Regions from separate parts of the Homo sapiens genome. Here region 1 is linked to region 2. The links are contacts of gene promoters, found by promoter capture Hi-C in human tissues and cell types (Jung and others, 2019). All regions are on one chromosome and are shown on one strand. The core of a region is centred on a gene start or on the middle of the fragment in contact, and the rest is flanking DNA. Distances in the headings are between cores, read along the strand shown.

What was found. The method cuts DNA at HindIII sites, captures the fragments that hold promoters and counts their contacts. A contact is called where the count stands out against the background at its distance.
Region 1: a fragment that was not itself captured here is called in contact with the fragment with the promoter of NCMAP in region 2 in 1 of the 25 tissues and cell types used here (hippocampus).

What each region holds. Positions count from the first base shown.
Region 1 is chr1:24,611,983-24,616,696 of GRCh38, forward strand. No RefSeq gene overlaps it. Among named protein-coding and RNA genes, the nearest start is that of SRRM1, 29 kb to the right of the region's middle. The HindIII fragment of the contact is 7,723 bases long and covers 1-4,714 here.
Region 2 is chr1:24,553,764-24,558,308 of GRCh38, forward strand. It overlaps NCMAP (non-compact myelin associated protein), which reads left to right and starts at 2,324. Exons shown (of 4, transcript NM_001010980.5): 1 at 2,324-2,406. It overlaps NCMAP-DT (NCMAP divergent transcript), which reads right to left and starts at 2,261. Exons shown (of 3, transcript NR_109781.1): 1 at 2,053-2,261. The HindIII fragment of the contact is 18,614 bases long and covers 1-4,545 here.

The DNA.
Region 1 (4,714 bases), core at 831-3,330, 58 kb after region 2:
ATCTTTTAAGAAGTTACTTTTCAGTCTATTTTTTGGTTTTACTTTTTTTTTAATACAAAGTCTTGTTATGTTGCTCAGGATGGCCTTGAACTCCTGACCTCAAGCAATCCTCCTGCCTCAGCCTCCCGAGTAGCTGGGATTACAGACATGAGCCACTGTGATCAGCTCAGTTCATATATTTGTATTTGGTTATCTTCCATTTTTATTATTATTTGTAGATATTTTTCTTTTTTGGGGGGGGTGTAGAGTCTCACTCTGTCACCCAGGCTGGAGTGCAGTGGCACAACCTCGGCTCATTGCAACCTCTGCCTCCCAAGTTCAAGCGATTCTCCTGCCTCAGCCTGCCAAGTAACTGGAACTACAGGCACGCACCACCACACCTGGCTAATTTTTTTTTTTTTTTTTGTATTTTTAGTAGAGACAGGGTTTCACCATGTTGGCCAGGATGGTCTTGATCTCTTGACCTTGCGATTTGCCCACCTCAGCCTCCCAAAGTGCTGGGATTACAGGTGTGATCCACCACACCCGGCCACATTCTGGATATATTAATAAGTCCTTTGTTGTCCTATAGCTTGCCTTTTTAAGTTCTTTTATTTTTTTTTTTTATTTTTTGAGACAGTTTCCATTTGTAGCCCAGGCTGGAGTGCAGTGCTGTGATCTCGGCTCACTGCGGCCACCGCTTCCCGGGTTCAAGTGATTCTCCTGCCTCAGCCTCCCAAGTAGCTGGGATTACAGGCATGCACCACCACACCCAGCTAATTTTTGTATTTTTAGTAGAGACGGGTTTTCGCCACGTTGGCCAGGATGGTCCCAAACGCCTGATCTCAAGTGATCCGTCTGCCTTGGCCTTCCAAAGTGCTTGGATTACAGGCATGAGCCACCTCTGGCTTGCCTTTAAAAGAAAAAAAATAGCTCTATTGAGATAGAATTTATTTATAAAGTTCACCTCTGTAAAGGGCCCAATTCAGTGGTTTTAATATATTCACAGACTTGTGCAGCCATCACCACTATCAAATTTATCATCCCCAAAAGAACCTCCAGTGCCCGTTAGCAGTCACTTCCCACTGCCCTCTCTCCCCAGCCCCTGGCAGCCACTACTCTACTTTTTGTCTCTATGGATTTGCCTATTGTGGACATTTCATGTAATGGAATCACACTATGTGGTCTTTTGTGACTGGCTTCTTCTGGTTAACATAACTTTTCAAGGTTCATCTATGTTGTTGCATGTATCACTATTTCATTCCTTTTTATGGCCGAATAATATTCCATTATATAGATATATCACATTTTGTTTATCCATTCATCAGGTGAACAACAGGGTTGTTTCCACTGTTGGGCTATTATAAATAATGGTGTTGTGAGGCCGGGCGCGGTGGTTTACACCTGTAATTCCAGTACTTTGGGAGGCTGAGGCAGGCGGATCACTTGAAGTCAGGAGTTTGAAACCAGCCTGGCCAACATGGTGAAACTCCTTCTCTACTAAAAAAAAAAAAAAAAAAAAACAAAAATTAGCTGGACATGGTGGCCCATGCCTGTAATTCCAGCTACTCGGGAGGCTGAGGCAGGAGAATTGCTTGAACCCGGGAAGCTGAGGTTGCAGTGAGCCGAGATTGTGCCACTGCACTCCAGCCTGGGTGACAAAGTGAGACTCCATCTCAAAAATAAACAAATAATAATAATAATAATGGTGCCGTGAACATTATGTACAAGTTTTTGTGCAGACATAGGCTCTAATTCTCTTGGGCATATACCTTAGGAGAGGAATTGCTGCAGGATATGATAACTCTATGTTTAACCTTTTGAGGAAATGCCAAACTGTTTTCTGAAGTGGCGCCACCATTTAATATCGTCACCAGTAATGTATGAGGGTTCTCATTCCTCCGCTTCCTCATTAACACTTGTTATTGTCCATCTTTTCTATTCTAGCCATCCTAATAAGTAAGAAATGGTATCTCATGGTGGTTTTGATTTGCATTTCCCTAGTGAATGATATTGAACATCTTTTTCATGTACAGATTGGTGATTTTTATATCATTTTTGAAGAAATGTCTATTGCAACTTCTTTGCTCATTTTTAAATTGGGTTATTTGATTTTTGTTGTTTTGACTTGTAAGAATTCTTTCTATATTCTGGATACAAGTCCCTTATAAGATATATAATTTGCAAACATTTTCTCCTGTTCTGTGGGTTGTCTTTTCTTCACTTTCTTGGTGATGTCCTTTGCAGCACAAATGTTTTAAATTATTATTATTATTATTATTATTATTTTTTTTTTTTTTTTTTGAGACAGAGTCTTGCTCTGTCTCCCAGGCTGGAGAACAATGGCACAATCTTGGCTCACTGCAACCTCCACCTCCCAGGTTCAAGCAATTCTCTTGCCTCAGCTTCCTGAGTAGCTGGGATTACAGGCGCGCACCACCGCTCCCATCTAATTTTTGTATTTTTAGTACAGACAAGGTTTCACCATGTTGGTCAGGCTGGTCTCAAACTCCGGACCTCAGGTGGTCTGCCCGCTTCAGCCTCCCAAAGTGTTGGGATCACAGGCGTGAGCCACCATGTCCGGCCCAAACATTTTTAATTTTGACAAAGCCCAATTCATCTATTTTTGTCTTTTGTCACTTGTGCTTTTGATTTCATATCTCAGAAATCATTGCCTGATCCAAAGTAATGAAGGTTTACTCCCATGTTTTCTTGTAAGTGTTTTCTAGTTTTAGCTCTTAAAATTTGGTCTATGATCCATTTTGAGTTAATTTTTTTCTTTTTATTCTGATCAAACTGAGGACCAAGTTATTGAGTTAATTTTTATATATGGTATGAGATAGGGGACCAGCTTTATCCTTTTGCATGTAGATATTCACTTCTCCCAGCACCGTATGTTGAAAAGACTATTTTTTCCCATTGAATTATCTTGGTACTCTAGTCAAAAAACAGTTGACCATAAATAGGAGGGTTTATACCTGGACTCTGAATTCTGTTCCATGATCTATATTTCTATTCTTCTACCATTATCACACTGTGTTGATTTATAATAAGTTTGGAAATCAGGAAGTGTGAGTCCTCAAACTTTTTCCTGTCCTCCCTCTTTGTTTTCCTTGTTCAAGATTATTTTGGGCCGTGCGTGGTGGTTCATGCCTGAAATCCTAGCACTTTGGGAGGCCAAGGTGGAGGGATCACTTGAGGTCAGGAGTTTGAGACCAGCCTGGCTAACACAGTGAAACCCCAACTCTACTAAAAATTAGCCGGGCATGGTGGTGCCTGCCTGTAATCCCAGCTACTTCAGAGGTTGAGGCAGGAGAATCGCTTGAACCCAGGAGGCGGAGGTTGCAGTGAGCTGAGATCACACCATTGCACTCCAGCCTGGGGGACAAGAGCAAAACTCCGTCTCAAAAAAAATAAAAAAGAAAAGAAAAAGATTATTTTGGCTATTCTAGGTTTCTTGTATCTCTGTATGAATTTTAGTATCAGCTTGTCAATTTTGCAAAAATGGCAGCTGGGATTTTGATAGAAATTAAGTTGAATTTGTAGATCAAATTGGGTAGTATTGCCGTTTTAATAACATTAAGTCTTTTGTTCCATGAACATGGATGTATTTTTATTTATTTTGGTCTTCTTTAATTTTTGCAAAGAAATTTTGGTTTTCAGTGTACAAATCTTTCACCTTTTTTGCTAAATATTTCTCTAAGTATTTTATGCTTTTTGATACTATCATAAATGTTTTAATTTCCTTTTTGAATTTTTCATTGCTAGTGCATAGAAATGCAACTAATTTTGCCTGTTGATTTTGTATACTGCAATATTGAGGAATTTTTAAAATTAGCCCTAACAGGTTTTTTGTTTTTTGTGGGATCTTTAGGGTTTTTACATATGAGATCATGTCATTTGCAAATAGAGGTCATTTTACTTCTTCCTTTACAATCTGGATACCTTTTATTTCTTTTTCTTACCGAATTGCTCTGGCTAGAACTTCCAGTACTAGGTTGAATAGAGGTGATGAGAGCAGGCATTTTTGTCTTCTTCCTGATCTTAGAGGAAAGCAACCAGTCTTTCATCATTAAATATGATGATACCCATGAATTTTTCTGCAGATGGCCTTTTTTAGGTTGAGGAAATTAACTTCTGTTTCTACTTTGAGTGTTTTTATCAGGAAAGGGAGTTGAATTTTGCCAAATGCTGTTTCTATATTTATCAAGATAATCATATTGTTTTCATATTTTATTCTATTAATATGGGATATTACCTCTATTGATTTTCATATGTTTTTGTTGAGGATTTTTGCATCTATATTTATAAGACATATAGGTCTGTAGTTTTCTTATGATGTCTTTGTTTGGTTTTCATATCAGAGTAATACTGGCCTCATAGAATGAGTTGGGAAGCATTTTCTCCTTTTCTATTTTTTGGAAGCATTGGTATTAATTCTTTAAACATCTGGTAGAATTTACCAGTGAAGCCATCTGGGTCTGAGCTTTTCTTTGTAAGAAGTGTGTTGTTGTTGTTTTAACTACTATTACTAATGCAATCTTTTTACTTGTTATGGGTCTATTCAGATTTTCTATTTCTTCTTAAGTCAGTTTTGGTAACTTGTGTCTTTTCAGGAATTTGTTCATTTTATCTAGGTTAGCTAGTTTCTTGGCATACAATTTTTTATACTATTCCCTTATAATCCTTTTTATTTCTGAAAGATCGTAGTGATGCTGTCTCTTTCATTCCTGAT
Region 2 (4,545 bases), core at 1,074-3,573:
GATAGGTTTCTGTGGGAGCCCCTGCCCTCCCACCCATAATAATCAATGACACCATATTATTATTTCCTTTAGAACTTTTCAGATGGTCTCACTATTTTGTTACCATCTTTTGTGCTTGGGTCATCTGTCCCTTCAACCCCAGCCCCACTGGAAGGTGAGGTCTACAGGGCAGGGAGGGGCCACCACTGACTCTGCCCCACCTTGCAAAGTGCCTGGCCTATAGTGAACACTCTGTAGCACTTAATGAGTGAATATGCAGCGCGATGAAGAGCCTTTTCATGCTTCTGCCTCCTGGGCTTGGCTGGTGTCTCTGACCCTGGTTATGGGAGGGCTGGTGCAAGGAAGAGCTCCCTTCCCAAACCCCTTACTGTCGGTGTGCACAAACTCATTCTGACAGGGCAGGTGTCCTGTGGCTTAGCCAGCCTGGATTAAGGGACAAAGCAGAAGGTGGGCTTGAGCCATAGATAACAGAAGGCTGAAGACTACCAAACCCCACAGAGAAGGACCTAAGACATCAAAGTCCCCCTTCCCAGCTCCTGCCACTTGGCATAATCATTCTCCCACTTACCTGGCACTTCACAAGTGTGATCTCATTTCTAATCCTCACCGCAACTATACTGAAGTATCTTCTCTTCATTTTACAGAAAGAAACAGTCTCAGAAACTACTCCCATCTTGCGAATAGTAAGCAGTGGAGCCAGGATTTGAACCTGAGACCATGCACTGGGGGCTCTTGCCCCCACAAACAAACCTGGAAAAACTTCCAGAAGCATCCTGAAGTGGCCCCCCCCAGTGCCATTTACTGTGGAACTCAGGCCTCAGGGCCAGAGCAGGCTCCCACTGGACTCCTCTCCCCACATTGTGGCCTCTCCCTGTAACCAGGTCTGCCTCCCCCACAACAGGGAAGCTCTTGAAGCCATGGATTAGCACCATGCTCCTTAAAGACCATACTCAAGTGTCTCAAGTCTTTGATGAGAAAGTAGAATTACAGGATTATACTCTCAATCAATATTTGTTAATACCACCTTGCAGCTGGGCATGGTGGCTCATGCCTGTAATTCCAGTACTTTGGGAGGCCAAGGTGGGAGGATCGCTAGAGCCCAGGAGTTAGAGGCTGCAGTGAGCCGAAATCCCGCCACTGCACTCCAGCTGGGGCAGGAGAGCAAGACCCAGTCTCCATAAAATAAAATGGGTTGGGAGCAGTGGCTCATCCAGCACTTTGAGAGGCCAAGGCTGGTGGATCACTTGAGGTCAAGAGTTGAAGACCATCCTGGCCAACATGGTGAAACCCTGTCCCTACCAAAATATATATATACATACACACACAAAAAAATTAGCCGGGTGTGGTGGCATGTGCCTGTAATCCCAGCTACTCGGGAGGCTAAGCCAAGAGAATCGCTTGAACCAGGAGGCAGAGGTTGCAGTAAGCCGAGATTGTGCCACCACACTCCAGCCTGGGCTGCAGAGTGAGATCCTGTCTCAAAGATAAATAAATAAATAAATACTACCTTGGAGTTTCCTATAAAAATACGTGTTTTCTTCCTATAAAAATCTTAGTTCTTAGCTGAGGAGAGTTTGAAAGCATCTCACAGGCACTGAGCGGCAAGGCAGTCGGCCCAGATGCAATCACTTTCTGGAAATCAATTGAAAATAGAACCGGGAAACCAGCCTCCACTCCTGATACTGTTACTAACCTGCTATAAGACTTTGTGCTCACCTTTGCTTCCTGGGCCTCAGCTTCCCTGTTTCTGAGAGAAGAGATCCCCTCTCCGAGATCTCTTCCCGCTTTCTATAAATATTGATTGAGTACCCGCTGCCTGCCAGGGATATCGCCCTGGGCTCCTGGGATACAGCTGGAATCTCGACAGCCTGGGGAGGAAGGAGCCTTTGATCCTACAGCGGCAAGAGTTCTTGACACTTGCCGGCTGCCAAGCCTGTTTCCTCCCGGTCTAACGTTCTGTGGTTGTCTGAATCTCCAGCTGCCCCTCAAAACCTTCAATCAGATTAGCGCCGTGCTCCTTTAAAGACCCTACTCAAAGTGCCTGGAGCTCACCTGGGTGTGTTTGTGAGGCCCTTTCCCTCTCTTTACCCCGCGGAGGAGTCCGACCTGGAAGCCTCCTGCTGGACTTCTCTACTGGACTGAGTGCCCGGGAGTGCCAGAGCCAGTCCCAAAAAGGACCCAGGAGCGGGGACACCACGGGGAGGCGCCGCCACTCCAGTGTGCGGGACCCTGGCACCCCCGGCGCGTTCTCCGGCCTCCCCAGGATCACCTGCACGGGGCGGGGCCGGGGGCGGGACGCCCCGGGCGGGGGCGGGATCCCAGGGTGGCAGCGCCGGGCGGCGGCGGGGACCCTGGCTGGGAGCGCGGCGGTGCCGGCGGGAGGCCGAGCGGGGCTCGACAGAGCAGGTAGGAGGCGCCTGGTCGCCGGGGTTGCCCGGGGCTGCGGGGAGCGAGGAGCGGTCCGGCCCAGGTGCGGTGGCTTCCTGTCCACCTGCCGGCCGCGCTGGGCGAAGGAGGGCCCGGGGGTGGGGACGAGGGGTCCCCAGTCTCACCCCCACATCTGTTGGAGGAAGTGCCTGGGGTCTGCGCGGGAGGGCGTTGGTCCGGGGTGGTGGGAGGGAGGCTGATCATCTCCAGTGGGTCTTGGAGACGAGGTCGTTTCCTTGTCCCCTCCCCACCCAAGCATCTGGCGGAGGGGCCGAGGCTCGCTGGAAGAAAAGGGAGTCGACCTTGACCCGGCCTGGAGATAAAGGAACTTTTACCCACTTGGGGCCTTATCCGCCCCATCTGTTAAATGGGCGCCTTGATGGGTCTGCCCTATGCAGAGGCCCCTCCGGAAGATCTGCGATTCAGCGAGATGAAAACCCACGGCAGAGAAGGAGCCCAGGGCCGTAGTTTCCATCCACAGCACGTTTGGAGGGGCTCGGGGGTCGCTCATCCAGCAGCGCTCCTGAGGAAGGATGCAGAGACGGCTCCAGTCCTCTGGGTATCCTTGTGGGAGGAGATGGCTGTGTCAAATATGAAGGCTGGATTAGAGAGACCAAGGCAGCCCTTGAGTCTGGGAGAAGATTCTGGAAGGCCCCTTGGAGGAGGTGGCATCTGAGTGGGGCAGGGAAAGGAAAGGTGGTGGTTAGGGCAGCGCTTTGGAGTCCCTGCTTTACCCCTCAGCCAAGGCCGTCCAACAGTCTCGGGCAAGTCCACACTTTTCTCTATGTTTCAGTTTGATGTGCTCCTTAAATGAAACAATTTCTCTGACAGATTAAATCAGATAACTCATAAAGTGTTTAATACAGGGTGGGTATATAGTAGGCACTCAATGAACATGAGCTATTAATGTCTGCTAGCAGCTGCTTGGGGGCAGGGATGATGCCTATTTGGTTCACCCTTGTATCCCCAGCACCAGCACGGTGCCCAGCATGCAGTAGGTCTCAATACATATTTGTCCAATGAATGAATGAATGCATATGAAGTACAATGCTTGGCACAAATAGTGAATTTACAGATGGCTGGTTCTAAGAGGTGGGTATGGATACTAGAGACAGTGGTCTAGGTGGATGGAACAGTTATAAGCAGAAGCCAAGAGCAACAGATTATAGGCACCCCCTCTTATGGTGCATGTGTGTATGTGTGCATGTGTGTGTGTGTGCGCTTGTGTGCATGTGTGTGCATGTGGGTGTGTGCACGTGTGTGCGTGTGTGTGCGTGTGTGTGTTGGTGGTGGTAGTAGAAAGTGACAGGCACAGCCAGAGCACCGGGATAGAAGAGGGCACATAATACCCTGGAATCCTGAGTCCCATCAGCCCGTGGGAGTGGATGATGGGGCAGGAACTCTAGGTAGGCCAATACCTTTACTCATGTCCTCTAAGTGGGGAGAGGGGACAGAAGGGCAGCCAAGAGACACCAAAGGACCATGAATGCCTGGTGGGAGGGGAGGAGGAAATGGGAAGGGGGTTCCCATGACCCCTTCATGGCCTGTGGCTTTCTTCACCTTGTCCCTGCTGGGCTCTGTGCTGGCTGGGGCCGAGATGAGCTGTGGGGAGGCAGCATGGTGCCAAGCCAGCCAGCCGCGGCGCGTGCGGTGAGCTGGGCATATAGTGAGCTGGGCTTGAGGAACTGGCTGGGCTCTGTGGGAATCTAGTGTAGTGGTTTCCTATCAACAGCTTATCCCCTGGGCCAGTTCCTGGGCTCCGTAGCACCATGTGGACTATGGCCATTCCTGCCTGAAGTCAGGAAGGAGCTGTGTCCTTGAGGTAGAGCCACTCTAAGCAAAGCTAGTTTCAGTTTTGTGACGTCCTGGCAGGCAGCTGCAGTGGGTTTCCATCTCCCTGGGTTGACCACGAATATGTGAGAAGCAAAGTTCTAAAGTGCAGGTGGAGACTGGAGGAGTACATGAACAGTTGGGAGGCGCTGGACCCCCTAAGGGGGCCAAGTTCGAAGCTTCTCCTTGTAGCACTTTCCATAATTGCCAACAACCCTTGTTTAATATCGGTGTTTTGCCCTAAGCTCTAGAAAAGCAGGGAGCAAGGCTGCCTTGCTTCTCACTTTG